Linked DNA regions of Homo sapiens: regions 2, 3, 4 and 5 are each linked to region 1. The links are contacts of gene promoters, found by promoter capture Hi-C in blood cells and fetal thymus (Javierre and others, 2016). All regions are on one chromosome and are shown on one strand. The core of a region is centred on a gene start or on the middle of the fragment in contact, and the rest is flanking DNA. Distances in the headings are between cores, read along the strand shown. Region 1 holds the start of DNASE2B (deoxyribonuclease 2 beta). Region 2 has its middle 25 kb from the start of SSX2IP. Region 3 has its middle 5.5 kb from the start of SSX2IP. Region 4 has its middle 19 kb from the start of PRKACB. Region 5 overlaps SSX2IP (SSX family member 2 interacting protein).

Region 1 (2,559 bases), core at 22-2,521:
ATACCAATGGAGGAATGGGTAAGAAAAATATTTCTTCATTTAACCTGCAGAAAGCTGTGAATCTACCAAATACAGCATAGTCTTGGCCTCAGGGCAGTGAGTTTCAAACTTTAGGGTACACCAGCATCACCAATAAGCTTATTAAAAATATAGATTCTTGAGCCCAACTGGAAGAATTCTGATGTAGCAGGTTTGGAATAAGTCCTAGAATTCTGCCTTTTTTGCAGGCACCACAGGTAATTGGGCAGGTGGTACAGAGTCCTCCTCCCAAAACTCTGTCTTAGGATAGAGACACAAGCCTTCCCCTTTTCTATGAATCCTGAGAATTGTGAACAGTTCTAGTGCAACCACAGAGGTAATCTGATTTACAAGGGTTCAGTTTGGTCTGGATCCTCTGATCTGGAACTATTATAGTTATCATTGTGATTATCAGAGAGACAGATTAGGGGCAGCATTATTTCCAGGCATGATGTAAACTGCTATTTATTATGATGGCAGCTTTAATAATTGATGCAAAAGTATGCATTAAAGAAATTATTTTCATATGTCTATCTACTCCTTCCCTGATTCACAAAGAAATTGGTCTCACCTTTTTATAGTTGTTATGGTAGTGGGCCATTTTATTTTGGTTTTCTACTTCAGATTCAGCTTCGAGAATGAGAAAGCATAGTTTGGGCAAAATAGATGTTTGTAACATTTTTTATTAACCTGAAGAGTGGGTGATCAATATGTTTACCTATTGCATAGCAGCCTGAAGCACCACATTGAGTGGCTAAAACCAGGAAGATGGAGAGAATATGTAAACATCTTTGGTAAAATACAGTTAAATTTACTGTTACTTTGAAGCAACCCTTTGAAGTATCCCTTAGCAACTGGTTCCTTAAGACAGAGATTATTAAGTGACAGATCCTAATTATTACTAAGACATAAGGTTTTATCATTTCTGTTTAATGTACGAACCACCTGCATTTGCTCTCATTCATTGAGTCAAACAGGAGAAGACATGAAATATATTTAACATCTACTTATTAAAATGAAGTCCCCCTGCCCAATGAATTTCATACAACAATGTTCACTCCAAAGAGTGAACTATCTTTCCCTATTTTTCTGCAGAACTTTTTGATGACTTTGCAAACCAGTCAACAATTCAGCACAAAGGCATCCAGAGTCACGCTGGCATGTTGTGACAGAATCGCACAATTACATGGGATCCATCCCACTCTGAAAATGCCCCGAACAGCGAACAGCACAGGTAAATCAAATCAAACGTCAGAGCCAGCACAGCCTGAGAGCGCCTTGAAACTCAGACTCCACAATCTATGGGGAAAGTGTCCTGCTGTGGCATGAAATAAATGAAACAGAAAATGATGGCAAGACTGCTAAGAACATCCTTTGCTTTGCTCTTCCTTGGCCTCTTTGGGGTGCTGGGGGCAGCAACAATTTCATGCAGAAATGAAGAAGGGAAAGCTGTGGACTGGTAGGTAAATGAAATGGAAGGACTGCTGCATGCAAACAGCCTCGGTACAGAGTTGGCCTGGCTCACTGCGAAGTTCCTAAGGGGAATGTCCATTCTCTTTCCTCCCTTTACAAATAAAGGAAGTTAAAGTGTGCAAATCGGCCAAACTCCCAGGCAGGGGTAGGCTTCTGAGTGACGGAGTTTCCCCCTGAAAAAGAGCTGAGCAGCCCCTCTTGGGCCTGATTCACTGTTCTCAGCGGGGCAAGGCTGGTAGCCACAGAAGTGGGATTGAGCTGACAGCTTCTGTGAGCTGGCAATTTCTTTTAATTACATCATGGCTTTTCCTAACAGAACACTTCCAACATCCTTTGAAAGACTGACAGAGTAAAGAAGGCAGATTATTTTTTTCTGAAAATGGAGCATGTGCTGCTCCTTATGAGAAAGAGAAGGGGGACCTGGTCACACACAGCACTGTTTGCCTAACATCGGTTTGTTTGGAAGCAGAGGCAGCTGTTGCCATGATTGGTACGTAGGCCACTGGCCTGTTGTACAGTGTCAAAGACATTAAATGCTGTGTTGCATTATAGTCATGGGTTCTCCTAAAGCTTTAACTACTTTTTCACCCTTTAATTGGGATATTTAGGTTTGCCATAATGGTTGGTGTCAAGCTTTTTGTGTAAACTTCAGGCTACAGAACACAGATATACTCAAGGCAGTAGTCAGTCTTTCCTCAGTTACTGAGCTCAACAGAGGTCTGTGTGGAGTTTTGAAAATATAAATATGAACGAAACATGGTTCCTACCCTCAAGGACCTCACAGTTATGTGGTAAGGGCATAGGTGGAACACTGGGGAACAGAGAGCCCAGAAAACTTCTCTAAGGATGTAATTTTTGAGCTAAGTTTTAAGAACAATTAAGAAGTAGCTGGAAAAAGAAGGGATGTGCAAGAGCATCTCAGGCCAATGAAGGAGCAATGAGGAGGTAGAGAGGCAAGAAGCAACATGGAAATTTGGGAGTTGCAAAGTAGTTTGGTATTGCTGGAACTTCAGGAGAATACAGGAAGATGACCGGAGGTGAGGTTAGAGAGGTGGGGACAGCCAAGGG
Region 2 (2,559 bases), core at 18-2,517, 320 kb after region 1:
GAAGAAATCTTCAGAATTAAGAAAATGAAACCCAGAGAGGAAAAGCAACTTGCCTAAGGATACCTCGTAGTTAGCAGACAGCGATCAAACAGAGCATCACAGACGAGTAAGGAGAAAGGGCCACTTTCTGTCCTTACAGTAACCAGGAAAGGAAATTCAGAGCTCAGCGGGAAGGGACTCAGGGAGGCTGATACCATGTAGCCATTACGCAAAAGACTTGTGGTAGGAAGGGATGTACAGATGGCACCCAAAGACCTAGTTTTAAATCCTATTACTTATTGGATATGTGATTTGGAGCAAGTCATTTAATCGCCCTTTACCTCATTAATTTCTCTTAAAAATGGGCACGACAGCACACTCCCCAGGTTGTCATGAAGTTAAAATGAGAAAATATAAAATAGAGCATTTTGTAAACTGCCAAGGCTATGAAGTTAATTATTATTATGCCTCTCCTCCCAGTAGCCTACTTTCCATTCCCTCAAACCTTTAAAGGCATGGGGACATGCTTCTTTTTTCAGTTGGGTAGCAAATCTCCTCTTTTCACAGGATTTTTTCCTGAGTGACAGCCTTCTGATGCTCCTGTCTAGATAATGGTTCCAGCTATGTTCACCAGTTTCTGCTTCTGAGTACATCATTATTTCCCTTCAAAAGTTGACATCCAAATGCAAAATATGCTTTCTCCAGTAATATGGTTCTGGGTTTTCATTTCTCCAAGTTTTTTTTTTTTTGCTTGCAAATTCATTTATTATAATGGAACTCAGAGGCAATAAAAATAACTGTACTCTTCAAAAAGATAGAATAGATTTGAAGCTATATGCAACTGGGAATTATTTATAGCAAAGTCAGTTTAAGGATGTATTTAGCTAACTAGCATATCTATGTCTTACACAATAGAGTTTGGAGAGGTCTTAGAGAGCATTAGAGATGACAGAGTTTTCAGGCGAAATAAATGGATATAAGCCAGTGCTGCTGTCACCCAAAAGGCCAAAGCTAAAATAGTAATATTGCCTTTCACTGTTCACACACATGAGCTACAGTGCTGCCAGCTTGTGGATGGCTGATCTGATTAGTAAACCGCAACTACCTGCTCTGAATACAACATGGCACTCCCCCTCCTCCACCTGTTTGTTTTCAAGAGTTCACAGCTGTGAGTATATCAAATGCTGTCTAGCATTAGGCCCACCTTGTTTCTCCCAGGGGAGGGCCCACTTGTCTGTCTTCTCTATGGAGGCCTGAATGGAGCTAAGTCAGCCATTCAGTACATCTAATCAGATGAAAGTCTATTCCCTGAGGGATGACCTCAATCCCACAGTGAATGAAGAAGGGATCAGCATATCGTGGATCCCAGGGCACCAGGCATTGTCTGGTAAACAAAAAGAAATTAGAAACACAGGGGTAGGACACAAAAGTCAAGACAGATAAATGCTTTATGTATGCTAATGTTTATCTTTGTTTAAATAAAGGTTTTTGAGACAAGTGGTGAGTCCCTGGGAATAAATGTCTGGTTAGACTACAGTGTGGGATGGAAAGGGAGAATGCTTGTTCAACAGAAACTGTGAGATTTAGATTTCATAGGTGAAAGCTCTAGAATCATTAAAAATAAAACAGACTTCCTCCTACCACCAAACCTGTGTTATACAACTGGTCTTGATTTTAGGCAGGGCTCCATTATATTGCAGGCATATGTACAGCCGAAAGGATGAAGAAAACAGACAAAAAAAAAAAATGAGACTAAAGATTAGCAGTAACTACAGGAATCAACAGTGGCCAGGGGAGGATGCTAAATGATATATGAAGATCAACAAAACCCAGAATGTAGAAAATTTTGCAGGACAGATGACCTAGATTTTTCAATAAATAAAATGCAAGAAAAAAATTAAAAGAGGAAAGGAAACCTATAGAATAAAAGAGACACAAGAGACATATCAATCAAATGCAATATGTGGACCAAGTCTGGATCTTGACTTGAAAAAATAAGTGTTAAAAAATCCATGAGACAACTCAAAATGGATTAAAGATTTAGAAATGTAAGGCCTGAAACTATAAAACTCCTAGAAAAAAAAGACATAGGGAAAAACTACTTGATATTAGTCTGAGCAATGATTTTTTGGATATGATACCAAAAGTACAGGCAATAAAAACAGAAATAAGCAAGGGTAACTACATCAAACTAAAAACTTCTGCACAGCAAAAGAAACAATAAACAAAATGAAAAAGCAACCTACAGAATGGGATAAAATATTTGTAAACTCTATATCTGACAAGTGGTAAATATTGAAAACATAAGGAATGTATACAACTCAATAGCAAAAAAACAAATAGACCAATAAAAAAATGGGCAAAAGATGGTCAGGTGCGGTAGCTCACACCTGTAATCCCAGCACTTTGGGAGGCCGAGGTGGGCAGATCACGATGTCAGGAGATCAAGACCATCTTGGCTAACACGGTGAAACCCCGTCTCTACTAAAAAATACAAAAAATTCGCCAGACTTGGTGGCGGGTGCCTGTAGTCCCAGCTACTCAGGAGGCTGAGGCAGGAGAATGGCGTGAACCCGAGAG
Region 3 (2,559 bases), core at 22-2,521, 300 kb after region 1:
ACGTTGCATGATACAAAAATATTTTGTGAAAGGAAGAGTCACTCGATGTGGCAAACTTCATTGCATTATTTTAAGAAGTTGCCACAGCCACCCCAACCCTCCGCAGCTACCATCCTGATCAGTCAGCAGCCATCAACATCAAGGCAAGACCCTCCACTAGCAAAAAGATTATAACTTGCTGAAGGCTTCAAGATTTTTTTAGATTGTTAGCATTTTTTAGCAATGAAGTATTTTTCAATTAAAATATGTACCTTGTTTTTAAAGACATAATGCTATTGCATACTAATAGACAATAGTATAGTATAAAATAACTTTTATATGGACCGGGAAGCCAAAATACTATGTGACATCCTTTATTGTGATATTTGCTTCATTGCTGTGGTCTGGAACCGAACCTGCACTACCTCTAAGGTGTGCCTGTACAGAAAAGGCAACCCCAAGCCCAGATGTTACTGAGTGGCTACATTAGCCTACCTTGGCTCTGTATATCTCTACACTGCATATCATGTGAGACAGTAAATGGCCTATTGCTTAAGCCATTGTAGGCTTAAGCCTAAGAACATTTTTAGCCCAGGGCTAAAAGAAATTGGGCTTGATAGAACTTTACTATGGTAAGTGTATTAGGCCATTCTTGCATTGCTGTAAAGACTGGGTAGTTTATGAAGAAAAGCGGTTGAATTGACTCCCGGTTCTGCAGGCTGTGCAGGAAGCATGACACTGGCATCTGCTTCTAGGGAGGCCTCAGAAATCTCCAGTCATGGCAGTAGGTGAAGTGGGAGCAGGCACCTCATACGGCGAAAATAGAAGCAAGAAAGAAAGATAGCGAGGTGCCACACACTTTTAAGCAGCCAGATCTCATGAGGAGTCACTATTCTCATGGAGGACAGCCCCAAGGGGATGATATTAAACCATTCATGAGAAACCACCCCCATGATCCAATCACCTCCCACCAGGCCCCACCTCCAATACTGGGAATTACAATTCAACACAATATTTGGGCAGGGACACATATCTGAACTATATCAGAAAGGAAAGATAAGATATGAAAATTTTATTTTAAAAATGCTTAGTTTGCTTTCCACTTTTTTTTAGCAAAATTAAAGGGATGTGACTATGAAATGCTGCTGTTGTTGTTTTCCAAAACTTATCAAAACTTCCACCCTTGCTCCTCTGTAGTCTATTTATATCACAGTAGGCAGAGTAATTCCCCTAAAATGTGAGATCCTGTCACTTCTCTTCTTTGGCTCCCCTAACTCAATGTTAAAGCTAAAGTGCTAACCATGGCTGCAAGGCTCTTACAACCTCACCTTCACCACCTTACCTCTCTGACTCCATGTCCTACAATCTGTCAACCATTCAACTAAGCACTCAACCAACCACTAGCCACCTCACTGTTCCTCAACTTTGCCAAGCACATTCCTGCTTCAGGACCTCTGTTTGAATGTTCATCCCCTTAGCATCTTTGTTACTTACGTCCTCCCTTTAGAGTCTGCTCAAATGTCACCATCTTGGTAAGGGCCAACCTGACAACATTGTTTAAAATCGGAACTCCCTTCCAGCTTTCCAAATTTCTCGTACTTTGCTCCTATACAATCTTAAACCATGATAGATCCTTTACTTATTTTGATTGTTCATTTGGTCTGTCTCCCTCCACTAGAATATAAACTCAGCAGGAAAATAAATTTCCTCTACTTGGTTCATTAATGTATCCCCAGTGCCTGAAACAGTGCCTGATGCTTTGTGGTTGGTACTCAATAATTATTTGGTGACTAAATTTATAAATTCAAATAAATGTTTTTCATTTCAAAGTAAGCACTTTATTAGGCTGTATACATATTCCCATGTATACATATTCAAAAGGTATCACATCATTATTTACTGAATTTGTTGAAAATAATGCTTTCCTTTGAGCTGGAGTTGCAAGGTTAAAAAAAAAAGAAAGAAAATAATTATTTTTAAAAAATAAATCTGATTTCTGGGACAATCCAAAAGTCATGCAAGAGCCAAATCTGATGAACACATTCTGGAGCAAAATGTTAAAATCCCAAACCTGTTTTCCTGCTAAGTTACTGCATTTGAGTGGGTAAGGAAAGGTAAAAAAACATAATGTGTTTGATTTTTCTAGGAGGCAGTAAACCAACTCTGAGCATAATTTCAAAGAGGAGTTCTAAAAATGTACACCAATAACTAGTTGCAGAATAAGTACTATATGTTACCATTTTTGTTTTTAAAATAGAAATATTTATTTCTATATGTCTGTGTGTATGTGTGAATGAATTTCTTCCAACCTGTCTGAAGACTTTCATTTTTGCCCCCATTACATTAGAGGCATCTTTCAAAAGTGAAAATCAAATTCTGATTCCCCTTCCCTATTTAAGAACCTTCAATGGCCTCTCATTGTATTTAGTAACTTCCCACCTAGCCCTCCCTGGCATGATCTGGCCCCTGTTCCCCATCCTCCTTTCAGAACTCGCACTTTGGCCACAAAGTGCCAACCATAGAGGCAGCCTTTTCAGTTCCCTTGGCTCTTTGTACTTGCCATTCAGTCTGCCTAGAAGG
Region 4 (2,559 bases), core at 28-2,527, 270 kb before region 1:
AATGGGATAATAATATCCAATATAAAGGTAGATTGTTGTGAGGAATAAATGCTTTATTTACTTCATGTGAAACACTTAGAATGATATCTGACATATAATAAGTTAGCATTGTTATAGTCAATCTTACAACATTTAGAATATGTTACATAGTCTAATATAAATGGATTCCAAAATATTCTAGGCAGTAAGCTTTGTATTTTCTTAACATTTTTACACTCAATAATATTAAATTAAAAGAGAGAAATTGAAGACTGGAAATGCATAGCTCCCTAAAGTAGTGTAGAAATATATGTGATATATTGGGGCCTAATAAAGGGCCTTTATTTCTGTCTGTGACTCATCTTTTAGATACCTAAAGCTATCTCATAAAAAAGCTATGGTATCTTGAAGAAATTAATCAATTTAAAAACATTTATTGAGTGTATACTGTGTGATCATCAGTGTGTTAGATTCTGGTAAGAAATGATATGAGAAACTCACAAAAAGAAGTATAAACATGCAATTACTACAATGTGGTCAGTACAGTAACGTGGGTGTTAATATATTTTAGGAACTAGAAGAGAAGAAATAACATTGAACTACACTTTGATTAACAAGTAGGAATTAGCTAGGAGAAAGTCGTCTTACATAAATGGAACTTCTATGCATGATTTTTGACTACTGGTTTACCTGAAGTTTCTTACATTTTGTATTAGTATAACTTTACAGCCTTTCATATCCAGAATGCTTTTACACACATTATCTGAAGAGTGAGGTTTTCAGGTTATTATCTGAATGGTGAAAATTGGGTTTCTATCGTAGTAATTATGGGTGAAGGGGAAATATGTGTTTTTTAAAACTGGACATTTGTAATGTTGCTGTCTGAGCCTATAGCCCCCTACCTTCACCTCTTTATGCTGTGGAGTCAGGCAACTACACTAGCAGTCAAATGCCTGAGGTTCGCAGTTTGCCCTATCAGTGCTCTTGAGGGTTCTCATGTGAGTGAAAGGAGTGACTATCCCATGCCCTGCACCATTTCTGTGGTGGTAGTGGTGGTTGAGGGAAGAAGTTTCATCTTCACATTTCAGGTATTTAGAAAGCCCATCTGGAGATTTAGTTATGGGACTACCTGGCTATAGTCTTGGCTAGGGCGTTAGTAGATCAATGAAATTTTCTCATCAACACGAAGGGCTCTAAGTGTTAAAGGGAGACAGTGCCCACATCAACCATGACTAGGAGTTTCACATGTCCATATTTCATACATTTTAGTACTCTGGAAATAGAATCCCACTTTCCTCATCCCCATCACCTTATTACATTTAAGTCTTGTGTTAATTTTCTATTATTGCTATAACTAAATAGTGGCTTAAATAGTGGCTTAAAATAACACCCATTTATTATCTCACTGTTCTGTAGGTCAGAATTCTGGCAGGCTCTTATCTGGAGTTTCTGGGGAAGAATTTACTTCCAAGCTGATCCATACTTCTGGCAGAATCCAGTACCTTATGGTTATAGGACTAGGGTCTCTGTTTCTTGGTTGACTGTCATCTAGGGGGCTCCCTTAGCTCTTAGAGCCCTCTCTCTGGTGCTTCTACATAGGCTGTAATATCTCAGAGCCAGTAATGGTGTGCTGATCATTCTCACACGTGAAATTTCATGACATGTTGCCATGGCTCTCTTCTGCTCCTAGCTGGACAAGGTTCTCTGCTTTCAAGAGCAAATTTTTTTAGATCGGGCCCACCTAAGTAATCCAGAGGAATCTATTTAGTCACTAATTAGTAGCCTTAATTACATCCGCAGAGTCCAGTTAGGCATATATTGAAACATATCCACAGTTTCCAGGCAGTAGATGGAATTAATAGGGGGAGCATTCTGCTTATCAGAAATCCATCGGGAGTTTAGAAAGAAGAGGAAGTACAGAGAGCCTACGACCTTTGGTATGCATTTCAAGACTCAGTCACAATTAAGAGGAGGATCTACTTAATAGTTAAAGAAAATTTAAACCATCTTTCTTCCCTAATACAACCAGAAGTATAAACTAGTTGTTAACAGATATGCATATGATTAAAATAAAATTTAGAAGGCAGTGATGTGTTTCAGACTCATATTCAGCTATCTTTTTGAAATCTCCATTTGTATGTCTAGTAAGCATCTCAAATTTAATATGTCCAATAGAATTTTTTATTACAACACCCCTCCAGCCCCTTCCTTCAGAAATGGGATAGTTCCCTTGACCCCTTCGCGGGACTCACAAAGGGATTGACTTGTTTACTCAGCTCGCAGCTCTCATCCCCTCACGGGACGGGGAGCATGCAGGTGAGTGGGTACAGGGACTGGGACAAGTGCTTCTGGGCATCCGCAGGAGTAGAATCCTGTGCAGTCCAGTGGAAGCTTCCTGGGGGGTGGGGGGGAGGGGAGGGGAACCTGTGACCTCCGGAGTCCTAGAGGGCATGTGTTACAGTGTGCTCATTTAGCTTTGCCATCCACAGACAACTTAAGTGTTTAACAGATCAGTGGAGGGTCAGGGTGACAGCCTTTTGCACCCGCCCTCTTGGTACCCGAGTACTTGTCTGGCATCCA
Region 5 (2,559 bases), core at 19-2,518, 260 kb after region 1:
ATACCTCCAATCCCAGGCGAATAGCGGCTTCTGTAAAGCTTCGTCTCTCCCTCTCAAAATTCTTTTTCTGCTCTTTAAAAAGGGACCATTCTTCTTTGAGACGTTCCTTTTCTTCCAACAAATAACAGTCTCGTAATAGTGAAGTGGTATCATCATCATATGCAGTAGCGAGCTGCTGCTATTAAAATTTAAAACATAGTAAGTTCCTGAGGGACCTTGCGACACTCCAACGAGTTGAAATGAAAGCAAGGGAAGGCCAGTCAAACTTCAGGGCAGGAATAGAAATTATTAAGAATCAAAAAGTCAAATGAGAATTCTCATTTCCCGAAACCTACTACCCCAACTAGCAAAGTATGGACTATTTAAGGAGTGGTACACAATGTATCTGTTAGCAGGGAACACAGACTAGAAATCTGTCAAATACCAGGGCCTTATGAAATAAAGGAATACAAATCTGGTAAGGTTCAGCACAATTCTGGCTTTTCATGGAGAACAGCTTTAAAAGGTAATTCATATTCACCTGTAAAAGCTGTTGCTGAGTTTTAATCATTTCTTTACACTGCTGAATTTCTAACTCGAGTTTTTCAGTTTCTTGTTCATGGTCTTGTCGTGAGATTACATCTTCATCATTAAAACCTTCCAGGTGTACCTTTGAAACTAAGACAAAATCAGTAAGTTGACATAGGTCTTATAGCCACCACTTAGTTTACAGTGTTTTGCACATATCTTTAAAACAAGGGCTCTCAGAACTTTTATCTTTCTAGAATTTTATAGGTTTTCTAAAAAGTAGTTACGTCCTTTGACTTTTTAAAATTTCATAAGCTATAACAAAATTAAATTTATATTATTTTAACATTATAAAAAATGTTTAAGCAAAGCAACTACAGGAGTTCATGACGACAATTACACATTTGTGCAATTTTAAGACTAAATGATATGCTTACAAACAGAGCTCTATTGCCAACAATTTGTAATCCATATTTATTCATGATTATGTCCTAATTAAAAACAGACAAAATGGCCATATTCAGAGAAGAGAAAAATAAAATCATGTTTTTGTTGACACTGCTTCAAAGATCAATGAAGTGTCACAAATCTTGCTCTCAAATATTAAATTCAACAAATACGAAGTCCAAACATACTTGCTATTTGATAATAAACAGCATTGACTCAAATGAACAAAATCTCATGTAGATTCATTTTGGTGCTGTAATAATAATTTTGCTGATTGCTCTTTACTAATACTTAACACAATGGCACTGAGTTCATATTTTGACAATTTAAATTTTTCTTTAAATAGGCTTCATTTACTGAGCAGAAATCTTCATTTTCCTAGTTTAAAAGCATTCAAACTTTACCAAGCAGAAAATATTAAGAATATATTCATCAATGTAGAGCTATGTATAAGGATAATAGTTAAGTGAAAAAAGCACACTAAAGAAAAATATAGGTAATATTCAATTTTTAAAATTTAAAAAAAAGTAAGTATCTTTCAAATCCATAGAGGAAAGTATAGAAAAATATGCACCAAACTGTTAAGTGTTATATGTATGGAATAGAGACCAGGATATTCTACTTTATATACTTCCAAATTAATATTTTGCATTAAACATCTATTATTTTAAAAATAATTTTAAGTGAATTACTAGGAACATAGTAATCTGCAAGCATCTAGAAATAAGCAAAATGTTCCTATCTATACTACGATAAATATTTCTTGATTTTTGAGAGTCAGTAAAAGAGACTCAGTTTTCTCTTTTTGGGGGGGAACAGGTGGTGTTTGGTTACATGAATAAGATCTTTAGTGGTGATTTCTGAGATTTTGGTGCACCCATCACCCAAGCAGTGTACACTACACCCAATGTGTAGTCTTTTATCCCAACTCAGTTATCTTTATTTGATTGTATACTGCATCCAGAGCAGATGGATCCATGATGTCCTCTTTTCAAACATTCACTCTGAGACCAAAGTGTATTTTTCTCAGTGAGGTTCAAACCTCACATCTAAATGTATGTAAAATGTCGGCTGTGCACAGTGGCTCACACGTGTAATCCAGACACTCTGGGGAGGCCAAGGCAGGTGAATCACTTGAGGCCAGGAGTTCAAGATAAGCCTGGCCAACACAGCAAAACCCCATCTCTACTAAAAACACACCAAAAAATTAGCTGGCTATGATGTGCGCCTATAGTCCTAGCTGCTCAGCAGGCTGAGGCAGGAGAAATAACTTGAACCTGGGAGGCGGAGGTTACAGTGAGCCGAGATGGCACCACTACACTCTAGCCTGGGTGACCGAGCAAGGTTCTGTCTCAAAAAGTAAAATAAAATAAAATAAAATGAAAAAATAAATGTATGCAAAATCTTGCTTTCAAACCACCAAACTGAAGTATAGTACTTTAGCTCTGAGCCTATAATGCGGCTTTCTAAGTGACTAAAAATCAACACCTTACCAAATGTCACAACTCACTTTACATGCATAGAAGCAGTGGTTACCTTGGTTATCAAGCTTTTCTACATGACTTTTCAAAATTCTCCACTGTTTTCTGATGCTGTTTGTAAGCT

The links. Contacts are between HindIII fragments. The CHiCAGO score rates a contact against its expected background, and 5 or more counts as called.
Region 2: a fragment that was not itself captured here is called in contact with the fragment with the promoter of DNASE2B in region 1 in 1 of 17 cell types (neutrophils); the score reaches 5.0 in neutrophils.
Region 3: a contact is called between a fragment that was not itself captured here and the fragment with the promoter of DNASE2B in region 1, in 2 of 17 cell types (M2 macrophages and M0 macrophages). The highest score is 5.2, in M2 macrophages.
Region 4: a fragment that was not itself captured here is called in contact with the fragment with the promoter of DNASE2B in region 1 in 1 of 17 cell types (endothelial precursors); the score reaches 6.9 in endothelial precursors.
Region 5: a fragment that was not itself captured here is called in contact with the fragment with the promoter of DNASE2B in region 1 in 1 of 17 cell types (neutrophils); the score reaches 6.5 in neutrophils.

Annotation. Positions count from the first base shown.
Region 1 is chr1:84,397,213-84,399,771 of GRCh38, forward strand. It overlaps DNASE2B (deoxyribonuclease 2 beta), which reads left to right and starts at 1,272. Exons shown (of 6, transcript NM_021233.3): 1 at 1,272-1,477. The coding sequence starts at 1,353. The HindIII fragment of the contact is 1,924 bases long and covers 136-2,059 here.
Region 2 is chr1:84,714,627-84,717,185 of GRCh38, forward strand. No RefSeq gene overlaps it. Among named protein-coding and RNA genes, the nearest start is that of SSX2IP, 25 kb to the left of the region's middle. The HindIII fragment of the contact is 7,914 bases long and covers 1-2,559 here.
Region 3 is chr1:84,694,700-84,697,258 of GRCh38, forward strand. No RefSeq gene overlaps it. Among named protein-coding and RNA genes, the nearest start is that of SSX2IP, 5.5 kb to the left of the region's middle. The HindIII fragment of the contact is 5,437 bases long and covers 1-2,559 here.
Region 4 is chr1:84,123,701-84,126,259 of GRCh38, forward strand. It overlaps a transcript of PRKACB not described here. Among named protein-coding and RNA genes, the nearest start is that of PRKACB, 19 kb to the right of the region's middle. The HindIII fragment of the contact is 2,181 bases long and covers 188-2,368 here.
Region 5 is chr1:84,655,828-84,658,386 of GRCh38, forward strand. SSX2IP (SSX family member 2 interacting protein) reads right to left here. Exons shown (of 14, transcript NM_001166293.2): 9 at 2,491-2,559; 10 at 521-657; 11 at 5-178. Among named protein-coding and RNA genes, the nearest start is that of LINC01555, 22 kb to the left of the region's middle. The HindIII fragment of the contact is 2,465 bases long and covers 37-2,501 here.